3 separate regions of the Homo sapiens genome follow, and all the other regions are linked to region 2. Evidence: promoter capture Hi-C in 16 types of primary human blood cells and fetal thymus (Javierre and others, 2016). All regions are on one chromosome and are shown on one strand. The core of a region is centred on a gene start or on the middle of the fragment in contact, and the rest is flanking DNA. Distances in the headings are between cores, read along the strand shown. Region 1 overlaps LOC124901975 (a long non-coding RNA gene). Region 2 holds the start of DECR1 (2,4-dienoyl-CoA reductase 1). Region 3 holds the start of LINC01030 (long intergenic non-protein coding RNA 1030).

Region 1 (3,751 bases), core at 472-2,971, 550 kb after region 2:
CGGCTTATTGGTTATTTTGAACTTGCCTTACCTCTATCGCCTTTGATTACAATAGATCAGTTAACAATAATTTCTCCCTCATTATGTCCAGCTGTGTTTTTAAATAAATGACTCATTCTTGCCTGTATGTCTGCATATATATATATACATATATATATGTAATTTTTTCTGCTATTCTTATTATTTATTATAAACTCTATGACGGAAGCAGTGTCCACATAGTTATGAGAGAAAATAAGTCAGAAAAATTAACTTTCCTTCTATTTCTTATGTTTAACGATGGCTCTAGAAAAATAAATCCTGGAACCAAGAAAGCATATTATTTTAATATCCCTCTCTCCTTTTATACCTCTTTCTTATCTCTTACTTCCTCTCTCTCCAGGTTCTAAGCCTGTCTGAGAATCACTTCCAGGCTTGATCCCTGATCCATGACGTATACCATGCTCCAAATTTTTTATTCCTCCTTCCATCTTCTCCACTTTAGCAGTAAAAACCTCCAATAAATTCAGTGCAAGTGAATTAGCTGGTGTCAGGAAAAGTGTAATCAGATGGAACTCAAATGTATGAATGTTTTTGACTAATAATACTTTTACCCTCCCTATAGGTTTTCTGGTCTTTCAAAGAAGATACTTATTAATGTAAATTACTGTCCAACCTTTAGAATTACAGGCAGTGTAGAAAAATGAGATTTTAAAATTCTAAAGATATGTGTACAATGGACCACCAAAAGAGCAGGAAAATTCCCTATCGGATTCTATCCCTAGTGTCCACATCCCTAACTGCCTCTTCATTCAGTTTGTCTTCTTCCATTCCTTAGTCAGAGACTCTTTGCAAGATTCTTTGCAAAATCCAGGGTTTTGTGGGATTTATTTTTCTTAAAGGAGGTGAGGTGAAGTTACAAGAGAAATGTGGAACAGGAGTAGCTGTCTTCTATATAGGTCAACTAACTTAATCATCCTTTTATTCCTTTTTATTTAAGAAGTATGTATTAAGAGCCTACCTTGTTGTCTTTTCCATACTTGGGATACAAGTAACCAGTATGGAAATTGGTTACTTGGGATACAGTATCACAAAGCCTCTGCCTTTGTAATACTCACTTTTGGGAGCATGCAGGGTTCATAAAGCTACATGATCTGGCCAAGGTTTATCACTGCAGGAGTATGAAGTGCACATCAGGGAAGAGTGGCTCATGGCAGATGAGATAATAAAAACAGTGTTCAAAGCTAAGACATGCATGGTGCTTGCTATGTGCCAGGTGACAGTATGTCCTTTACATACAACTCACATATAATTATTTTGTTCTCAAAAGACTCTAGGAATTAGATACTATTGTTACCATCATCATTCTTGTTTTACAAATGAGGAAACTGAAACACAAAATAATGAGAGCCATAGAGCTGGTTATTGATGAAGTTGGGATGTAGACACAGGCATCTGGCTGCCGAATCTATATGCTTCTCCACCACCCTACTGCTGGCATGAGATTGTTTTATGTAAGTTGAATTTTAAAATCAGAAACTTTAAATACAATGCCATTAGACTGAAACTAATCTTGTGAAATCCTCTAGGATTCTAAGTGGGAAATGTAGACATGCTATATTTTTGTGAAATTATTGCAGTGATATTTATAATCAAAACTGGAAACTAAAAACCATCCCTTTCTGAACTGTTAGAAAAGCAGATTAATATGTAAAGTGGTAAAGAAAAGCAATTTTTAAAAATTTGTCCAGTTCTGTCACTAACCTACTGCATGTCTAAGGGTTAGATCACATCAACTCTCCAGACTTGAAATTCCTCATATGGTGGGTGATCACATAATTAATTGTCCAAATGGGGACACTTAGCAATGAAGGGGGGCCCTATTAATAATTACACTGGGACGATATTGCCAGGCAAACCACAGTAGATTGTTGTTCAACTTATGTATCGAAATGAGGCTACAAGAGCTGATCCCTAAATTCACTTCTAGTTGTAGTGGGTGTGTTTGTGTTTGTTTGACCGACTGTTTGTCCAAAGTATTAGGATCATTTAGTAAGAGGCAGAAGGAAAACTCAGAGGTCTGACTTAACCCCGTAATGGTTAACAAGGTCTGTGCTAGATTAGGACATTTTTATTCTAGTAAATAAAGTAATAACTACAGCAATTTATAAACTGACCACATTTATATTAAATTGAAATTGTGCAAGAGAAAACAAATGCAAGTTAATTCCAAGTAGGCTTAATGCCCAGACAATCAGTACTGCAAAAATAAAACAAAACAAAACCAATGCCCAAGAAAGGCTGCCAATTAGAAAGAAAGAATTAATTTAATTCAAAACATTTTTTAATTTTGAGTCCTCAAGACTAAACAGCTAACTTGGGTACCTCCAACCAGTATGACACTGAGAACAATGTGACCTGATTTAAAGGAATTTTGAGTTTGTACAAAGAGCATTGGCAAGAGATCTTAGAGTCTTCATTCATGTATTCATTTAACGGATTGGCAAGAGCTTGTTATGTGCCAAACATTGCTATGGGCTGATGATACAACTAAGTAAAAACATAACCCTTGCCTGGAGGAAATATCAGTCTGATCTTGACACTGCCATATAAGTGCAGTGAGGCTTTGGATATGTCATTTAACTTTTCTGAGTCTCGGTTTCCTTAAAGTAAAATGAGGGAACTAAAAATGCATGATCACTAAAAATCGTCATTTGGCTAGTTAAATTTTATGAACTCAGAAGTTCTGTCTGGATAAATGTTAGCCTTTATCTGGTTTCATTATATTAGATAATAATGTTAGGAAAGTTTTGAAAATACAATAGGCATGCTTCTGTTTGTTTCCATAGTCATTCTGTTGAAAAAAAGAGATGTTTTCCTTTCCCCCATAATTTTCCCTTTGTTCACTCTCTTCAGGCCACATTTTCCATGTGGTTGTTTATCAGTATGTGCTATGGTCTGAATGTGTCCCCCAGAAAGCAGGTGTTGGAATTTAATCCCCAATGCAACAGTGTTGGGAGAGAAGCCTAATGGGAGGTTTGGATCATGAGGGCTTGGCTCTCAAGAATGGATTAACGCTGATTATAAAGGTGGTTTGCCAGATTCCAGCCCCTCAATCTTGAACTTCCCAGCCTCCAGAACCATGAGTCCGTCAATTTCTGTTCATTTTAAATTACCTAGTTCAAGATATTCTGTTATAAGCATCACAAAATGGACTAAAACAGCCTTTAAGTATGCAGTTTCAGAATACGCTATACCAGTGGTCTTCAAATGTTGACAGCTACGCCTCACCTCCAGAGTTTCTGTTTTAGTAGGTCTGATGTGGCAGATTAAAATGACCAACTATCCCACGTTTCCTGGGACTATCAAGTTTTAGCACTAAAAGTCTTTTCTCTCTCCAGCCTCCCCTCTTTTTTTTTTTGGATACAGAGTCTTATTCTGTTGCCCAACCTGAAGTGTAGTGACATGATTATGGCTCACTGCAAGCTTCAAACTCTTGGACTCAAGGGAACCTCTCAGCTCAGCCTCCCAAGTAGCTGGGACTACAGGTGCACACCACAATGCCTGGCTATTTTTTTAAAAAAAATTTTGTAGAGATAGGGGTCTTGCTATTTTGCTCAGGCTGGGGCTGGTGCTGAGCTCCTAGGCTCAAGCAATCTTCCTGCCTTGGTCTCCCAAAGTGCTGGGATTATACATGTGTGCCACCTTGCCCAGCTTTTTTATCTCAAGAAACTCTTCAGTCTCAGGTAAGCCAGTCTAGTTGTTCACCCAA
Region 2 (3,996 bases), core at 885-3,384:
TCAGATCTTCTCCAGCTGAGCCTCCAGATAAAAACAGCCTAGTTGACACCTTGATTGCAGTCTTCTGAGACCCAGAGCCAAGGATCCAGCTAAGCTGTGCCTAGACTCCTAACTCCTGGGAACTGTGAGATAATAAATGATTAATTGTTTTAAGTTACTTATTGTGTTACTCCATTCTCACAATGCTATAAAGAAATACCTCATACTGAGTAATTTATAAAGAAACGAAGTTTAATTGACTCACAGTTCTGCAGGCTATATAGGAAGCATGACTTGAGAGGCCTCAGGAAACTTACAATCATGGTGGAAGATGAAGGGGAAGCAGGCTGTCTTACACAGCTGGAGCAGGAGGAAGAGAGAGGGTGGGAGGTGCCACACACTTTTAAACAACCAGATCTCCTGAGAACTCTATCAGGAGAATAGCACCAAAGGAAGAAATCTGTCCCCGTGATCCAATCACCTCCTACCAGGCCCCAATTCCAACACTGGAGATTACAATTCAACATGAGATTTGGGTAGGGACACAAATCCAAACCGTATCACTAATGTTGCAACTTCTTTTTAGAAACAAGATGAATCCCACTTACAATTTGGTTTGGAAGTCAAGAATAACAGTGCCATACATATATCAAGAGCTTAGGAAAAGTTTTATTATTGATATATTCTCAAGGTTTTTTTGGGAGGACAGAAAATGCCTCCTAAGCTGGTCTAAAAGTTATTTAAGAGGGCAAGTGTTCTGGGCTGAATTGTGTACTTCCCTCTTCTCCCAGCCAAATATATACATTGAACTCTTAACCCCCAGTATGTCAGAATGTGGCTATATTTGGAGATAGAGTCTTTAGGGAGGTAATTCCAGTTAAATTAGGTCATTGAGGGTGGGCCTTAATCCAACACGACTGGTGTCCTCATAAGAAGAGGCAATTTAGATATGGAAAGGTACACAGGAGGATCATGTAAAGACACAGGGAGAAGATGGTCCCACAGTGGCTCCACAAGAAACCAACTCTGCTGACTTGTGGCCTCCAGAATTGTGAGAAAACAAATTTCCATTTAAGCCACCCAATCTGTGGTAGTTTTGTTCCTGGACCAAACTGAGGGTCAGGCTGCTATTTCTTGCTGCCAATAATGAGATGTCGATGAACTGGGGATGAAGAAAGTTTTTATTTCTGTAACCAGTTACAGGCAGAAGGCCTGGAAATTATCACCAGACCAACTCAAAATTACAAAGTTTTTCAGAGTTTATATACCTTATAAGCTATATGTCTACATGTAAGTGTACATTCCTCTGAAGATATAAATGTTTCTTTATCAGCATTTGGAACATGCCAGGCAAATAGTAAACACTCAATATCATCTACCATCAGCCTCAGCCTGGGGCCTCACACCCATCTTCTTTTATCTAAAATTCTGAATTAGCTATGAATATTCTCATTTTACGAATGAGGAAAGAAATGTGATCTGAGCTAATGCCTTGTGTCAACAGGTATATTACACTAAGATGGAGAATGATATACTGAATCTGTGTTTGCCTTTAACGTGTGTTTAACTTCGAGAAAAAAGCCAAGGCTGGGCGGTCGCAGTCACGCTGCATCCGGCGACAGGGGGCGGTGTGTCCTGCGAAAAGTCAAAACGCCGGAAGCTGCCCTTAGTGTTTTTCAGCCTCTTGGTCTTAGGGAAAGTGAGGCCGTGTTTTACATCCAACATATTATTATTCTGATAATATGTGACTTGGCGCCACGCGCACTCTGCACTTAAACACGCACTTAAGGGATAAACACATACGACTGAAAAAGAGTTTCGCCCTTGATAGGCAGTGTATGGGGTGCGCAGCTGCAATCTGCAAACCCTTGCAGGGCGCGGGGTTTCGTACACCCGCTCAAGGACGCAAAGAACCTCCATTCTCTGCCATACAAAGCACTCCTGGCCCAGAGAGCAGGAAAGAGCATCAGCTAGGCCCAGCTAGGCGGCGCCCTCGGCCGGACTCTGAAGGTCAGGGCCGCTGGGCGTCCACGCCGCCTGGGTCCCAGTCCCCGTCCCATCCCCCGGCGGCCTAGGCAGCGTTTCCAGCCCCGAGAACTTTGTTCTTTTTGTCCCGCCCCCTGCGCCCAACCGCCTGCGCCGCCTTCCGGCCCGAGTTCTGGAGACTCAACATGAAGCTACCGGCCAGGGTTTTCTTTACTCTGGGGTCCCGGCTGCCCTGTGGCCTCGCTCCTCGGAGGGTAAGGCGGCCGGGGGCGCGGGGAGCGAGGACAGGGCGTCTCGACGCGCAAAGAGAGAGGACAGGGCGTCACGGGGGCTCGGGGAGCGAGGACAAGGCATCCTGGGGCGCAAAGAGAGAGGACAGGGCGTCCCGGGGGTTCGGGGAGCGAGGACAGGGCATCCCGAGGCGCAGAGAGAGAGAGGACAGGGCGTCCCGGGGCCTCGGGGAGCGAGGACAGGGTGTCCCGGGGCTCAAAGAGAGAGGACAGGGCGTTCTGGAGCGCTAAGAGAGCACAGAGCAACCCGGGGAGCGAGAGAGAGGACAGGACGTCTCGGGGCGCAAGAGAAAGGGCAGGAAGTCTTGGGGCACAAAGAGAGGACCCGGCGTCCCTGGGGCTCAGGGAGCTAGGACAGGGCGTTTTGGGGCGCAGAGAGAGAGGACCACCAGGTCCCGGAGCGAAGGGCAACGCCGGGAGTGAGCACCGGGGCCCGGGTCGTATTCCACTGTCAGATGAAGCCCTGATGTGTGTAGGGGAATAGGGAAGAGACGTGATTTTCGAAGTTTTCACAGTTCTGCAAGTTTCCAACTTGTGTGTAAATAGGTAGAAAGAGGTAGGGAAGGATACGGCGCCCGTCCACCCCTTAAGGAGTGAGAGGGGATCAGGCCGAGCGAGCACTGACCTTTGACGTCCTTTGTTGTGAGGAAAGTCCATCTATGTGTTAGTTATGGAATTAAACACTAATACAAACAAATTATCATAAAAATGAAACAAAAACAAAACCCCAGCTGTTTATAGACTCCCCTTCCCAGATGTATAGCTGGGAGAGGTCCGTCTCACACTGGCTTCCCCCTCTCTCTGGCCCACACTCCTGTCACCATCTCCATTGCACCCATAGTGGAAATAGCTAGGAAGTGAAAACAGCTAGGAAGAAGAAAGAGAAACAAAAACAAAAAGAAGCAATAATATCCAAGACAAGCCCTCCCCACATCTAAATTACAAAATTGTTATAAGTAAACTAAAAAGCACATTTTCTTTAGCCAGGTAGAAAAATTAATATGTCAACTGTGAAAAAACTTCTTTTGATTTGATAGAATAGACAGCCATGGTGTTGTTTTTCAAAAAATATGGGCAGCAGTAGTTCCAAATAGGAATACAAAGAATTAGTATGGTGGTTCCCTCAAGTAAGGTATCTTTCTTTTAAAAAGTGAGATTTGTTCAGGGTTAGGGTTTTGCTGATTTTTTTTCTCTCCCTGTGAAAACTGGGTTATAGATCATTATAAAGGAAGCCCATATTTTCTGATACTTTTCAGAGACATTTCTCATTTGAAATCTACAACAGCTCTGTGATGTCTTCAGAGATTTCATTTTTTAACACACATCATTAGGATTGTAGCAATAAGGTCATACAGACCTTATCCAAGCTCTTCTGACACCATTAGACAATACAGTTTGAGAAGGAGAAAATGAACTCATTTAAAAATTAATTGTAATCTGACAATTTTGAAATTCCTTTGCTGAAGAAAAATATGGAAGTTTTGAGGTTCAGGGTTGGGAGGCAAGAGAGGTACCTGTTAGTGTGGTTTGTCCCCTTCCTAGCACATGTAGCCTCAAGTTTGAATTCCTGGGAGAAGAAAAGTCTTTACATCTGTGATGTGGGAGGTTGTTCCAGGGAACATCATGTTTTTGTGGGCAAATACAAGTTGTTATAATTAAAACCCCTAATTTGAATATTTTTGTTACCAAGAACCAAGGCAAATGTTTAATTTGTTATAAAACCTGTTTGTGAAGTGCTGTG
Region 3 (3,837 bases), core at 455-2,954, 600 kb after region 2:
AGCCCTGTAAGAAAAGCAATAGGGCATCTTTTTTCTTTTTTATTCTAAAGGGGTGATATGAAATACAGTAAATCATAATAAGAAAGGTAGTTCTAATTTGATTACAAAATTTAAAAATGCTTTATCAAGGGTTGATATGTGCAGCAAACCACCATGGCACATGTATACCTATGTAACAAACCTGCATGTTCTGCATATGTATTCCAGAACTTAAAGTAAAATAAAAAAAAAATGCTTTATCAATCCAGAGGTTAAAAGACCTCGAATTAAATCAGCTCATTTGTCAGAAGTATGAAGCCAAGAAATTCAATGTACTCAAGTGTTACCAAATGGTAACAGCTGCACCTAAACAAGCTAATTCTTAACTTATTAGTCAAGAGTAACTGACACTCAAAAAAGACTAATTGTAATTGTTTTGTTGTTGTTTGTTTCGAGACGGAGTCTTGCTCTGTCACCGAGGCTGGAGTACAGTGGCGCGATCTCGGCTCACTGCAACCTCTGCCTCCCGGGTTCAAGCAATTCTCCAGCCTCAGCCTCCCAAGTAGTTGGGACCACAGATGCGCGCCACTGCATCCAGATAATTTTTGTATTTTTAGTAGAGACCGGGTCTCACCATGTTGGCCAGGCCGGTCTCAAACTCCTGACAGGTGATCCACCCGCCTTGGCTCCCAAAGTGCTGGGATTACAGGCGTAAGCCACCGTGCCTGGCCACGTAATTGTAAATTATTTGGTCTCTTACACCTTAGTGAAAATATTTGAGCCTCTTTTGTCACTGGATGTTCCTCCATACAGTGTGTCCTGCAGAAATGGTCATTAATTCTGTCACTTAAAGAAAGCAAAGCAGTGAGGAAAGAAATTCACGTTTCTCAAGTGTCTATAATGGATAGCTTAGGTCGTCTGCGTATGTTATCATCACTTCATAACTTTTGGTGGTGGGGGGGAATGTAGCACAAAAATTGTGATCCGAAGCCAAATCAAGTTTCACTTCTCTGACATCAGAGTTAACTCATTGAGCACTGTAATTCAGAACCTTAGGTTAAAAGACTAGTGAAAGTAGTTCCTATATACACTTCAATCTTTCCATAGTATTACAATTGTTTCTTTTGATCTGTTTGAATAAATCCTTTGTTTCTAATTGTGTCTATCAAATTAATAAGTACAAAAGGTTTGTAAGCTAAATTCGAAGAATTCCATTGATAACATCTGCTCCTAAGTGTTTAGCACACATTTTAACCCTGAAAGCATATTATGAATACATGCATCTCCAGAACTTTATCATTTCTTAAACTTGAAACTAATGCTAGAGCAAAAATTATGTCTGACCTAATGTCCTATATATACAGCCAGGAGATATGATAAGGCTTGCAACTATTCCTTAGGAATAATTTTCCTTTCTTTTCAATTACTTCTTATACATGTCTCTGTATTTTTCAAGATTTTGCTTTTTTTGCTGAGTAGAAAGTGTATCTACTTTGACATGTAACAAACTTTTCTGTGTATCACTAACTAAATACCCTAAAATTCATTTTTATTTCAATGGCAAAGATTTAAAACTAAGGAATTGTGGCACACGCGCACACACACACACCCCATATATATATACCATGAGTCTCAAACTATTTGTTATTATTAGATATGCAATTTTCCAAAACTTAATATTTTTGTTGTTGTTGTTGTTTGAGACGGAGTCTCGCTCTATCACCCAGGCTGGAGTGCAGTGGCGCGATCTTGGTTCACTGCAACCTCCGCCTCCTGGGTTCAAGTGATTCTCCTGCCTCAGCCTCCCGAGTAGCTGGGACTACAGGCGCGTGACACCACACCCGACTTATTTTTTGTATTTATAGTAGAGATGGAGTTTCACCGTGTTAGCCAGAATAATCTTGATCTCCTGACCTCGAGATCTGCCCGCCTCGGCCTCCCAAAGTGCTGGCATTACAGGCGTGAGCCACTGTGCCCAGCCCAGCTTAATACTTTTAAAGAATTCAGCTTTAATCAAATTGTATGTAGTTTAAGTAGTTGTGGAGTAAAACTTTCAATAAATTAGGAAGTTCTAAAGGTGCTCTGGAGCCTCCCGTATCACCAAGGCAACACAGGCTGGATGCTGTTCTGTCACTGCTTCTGCTGGCCTCCTGTTGCCATTGAGTTGACTAGCATGGAAAGCACAGAATGGGACAAGGAAATACTGAAATGCTTTGCCACTAACTTTCTCTCACCCTAGGAAATACCCTTTTTTCAACATGAAAAATCTGAACTAGATAATCTTCATTACTTTCAGGTTTAAAACATGTTTTTCTAAAATTAAACTAATTTTAAAATAAATTTCACTGGAATAAAAATGCTGACGGTAGAGAACACAGAATGAGTTTTCTCTAAGCCCTGCAGTTCTCCAAGGAGGGTATCAGATGTGTTTCATCACATGAATCTTTTGATTTTTTTTTTAGGAAATTAAAGAAAAAATGTTAAAGCATCCTAAGATTGATTAGAGTTGGAATTATATTTAACCCCGGGGACAAATCAGTTACCTGTTCTAGAGAGCCATGATTCTGCTAAAAAGGTGGTTGAAAACTAAAACAAATTTAGACTGAAATGGACCTTAGGTAAAGGATCTCAGCCTCCACACTGTATACATGTGGAATTTTTTTTTTTTTTTTTTTTTTTTTTTTTTTTTTTTTTTTTGAGATGGAGTCTCGCTCTGTCGCCCAGGCTGGAGTGCAGTGGCACAGTCTCGGCTTACTGCAAGCTCCGTCTCCCGGGTTCACGCCATTCTCCTGCCTCAGCCTTCCAAGTAGCTGGGACTACAGGCACCCGCCACCACGCCCAGCTAATTTTTTGTATTTTTAGTAGAGATGGAGTTTCACCATGTTAGCCAGGATGGTCTCGGTTTCCTGATCTCGTGATCCACCCACCTCGGCCTCCCAAAATGCTGGGATTACAGGCGTGAGCCACCGCCCCCGGCCCATGTGGAAATCATTTACTTGCACAAAATTATGTAGCTAACTGGCAAGAGTGAGAATTAAAATGCATTATGTTTCTTAACTCCCAGACCAATGCTGCATTTACTTGTATAATACCAGTATCTTGTGATATAGGCTAAAGGTATCTCTAATCAATGAGTTACAACACACTAATATAAATTATAGAAGGTTTATCTCTCTCAGTATTTAAGTAGGCTTCACTCACTCCTATCTTAACTGAAAAGCCCTTCCTCTGCGGTTTTCCAGTCTCACCCTCTTACTAGGCATCAGAATTAGCTGGAGCTCTTACATAGAAGTCAACGCCCAAGCCTTACCTGGAAAGATTATGATTAATTGATGGTAATGGCCAGGTATAGGCTATTTTTTTTTTTTTAAAGTTCTCCAGGTGACTTTAATATGAGAGAACTACAGTCTTACCGTGTCTGGAATTGCTGGGTTCTTGGTCTCGCTGACTTCAAGAATGAAGCCACAGACCCTCGCGGCGAGTGTTACAGTTCTTAAAGATGGTGTGTCCGCAGTTGGACGTGCCCGGAGTTTCTTCCTTCTGGTGGGTTTGTGGTCTCACTGACTTCACGAGTGAAGCTGCAGACCTTCGCAGTGAGTGTTACAGCTCTCATACGCAGCACGGACCCCAAAAGTCAGCAGCAGCAAGATTTACTGAGAAGACTGAGAGAACAAAGCTTCCACAGCTGAGTAAGATAACCTACCGGGTTGCAGCTGTTGACTGGGGCGGCCTGATTTATTCCCTTATCTGGCCCCACCCACATCCTGCTGATTGGTCCATTTTACAGAGAGTTGATTGGTCCACTTTACAGAGAGCGGATTGGTCCGTTTTGACAGAGTACGGATTGGTGCGTTTACA

Evidence for each region. The method cuts DNA at HindIII sites, captures the fragments that hold promoters and counts their contacts. A CHiCAGO score of 5 or more calls a contact.
Region 1: a fragment that was not itself captured here is called in contact with the fragment with the promoter of DECR1 in region 2 in 13 of 17 cell types (naive CD4 T cells, total CD8 T cells, non-activated CD4 T cells and 10 more); the score reaches 12.4 in naive CD4 T cells.
Region 3: a contact is called between a fragment that was not itself captured here and the fragment with the promoter of DECR1 in region 2, in 7 of 17 cell types (total CD4 T cells, total B cells, naive B cells and 4 more). The highest score is 10.4, in total CD4 T cells.

What each region holds. Positions count from the first base shown.
Region 1 is chr8:90,550,020-90,553,770 of GRCh38, forward strand. The region is part of intron 2 of LOC124901975 (a long non-coding RNA gene); the gene reads right to left. Among named protein-coding and RNA genes, the nearest start is that of LINC01030, 54 kb to the right of the region's middle. The HindIII fragment of the contact is 3,484 bases long and covers 1-3,463 here.
Region 2 is chr8:89,999,343-90,003,338 of GRCh38, forward strand. DECR1 (2,4-dienoyl-CoA reductase 1) reads left to right here and starts at 2,135. Exons shown (of 10, transcript NM_001359.2): 1 at 2,135-2,219. The coding sequence starts at 2,151. RefSeq lists enhancers at 1,479-1,773, 2,622-2,761 and a silencer at 2,052-2,151. The HindIII fragment of the contact is 6,361 bases long and covers 1-3,996 here.
Region 3 is chr8:90,602,376-90,606,212 of GRCh38, forward strand. It overlaps LINC01030 (long intergenic non-protein coding RNA 1030), which reads right to left and starts at 3,688. Exons shown (of 3, transcript NR_104062.1): 1 at 3,393-3,688. The HindIII fragment of the contact is 3,898 bases long and covers 1-3,653 here.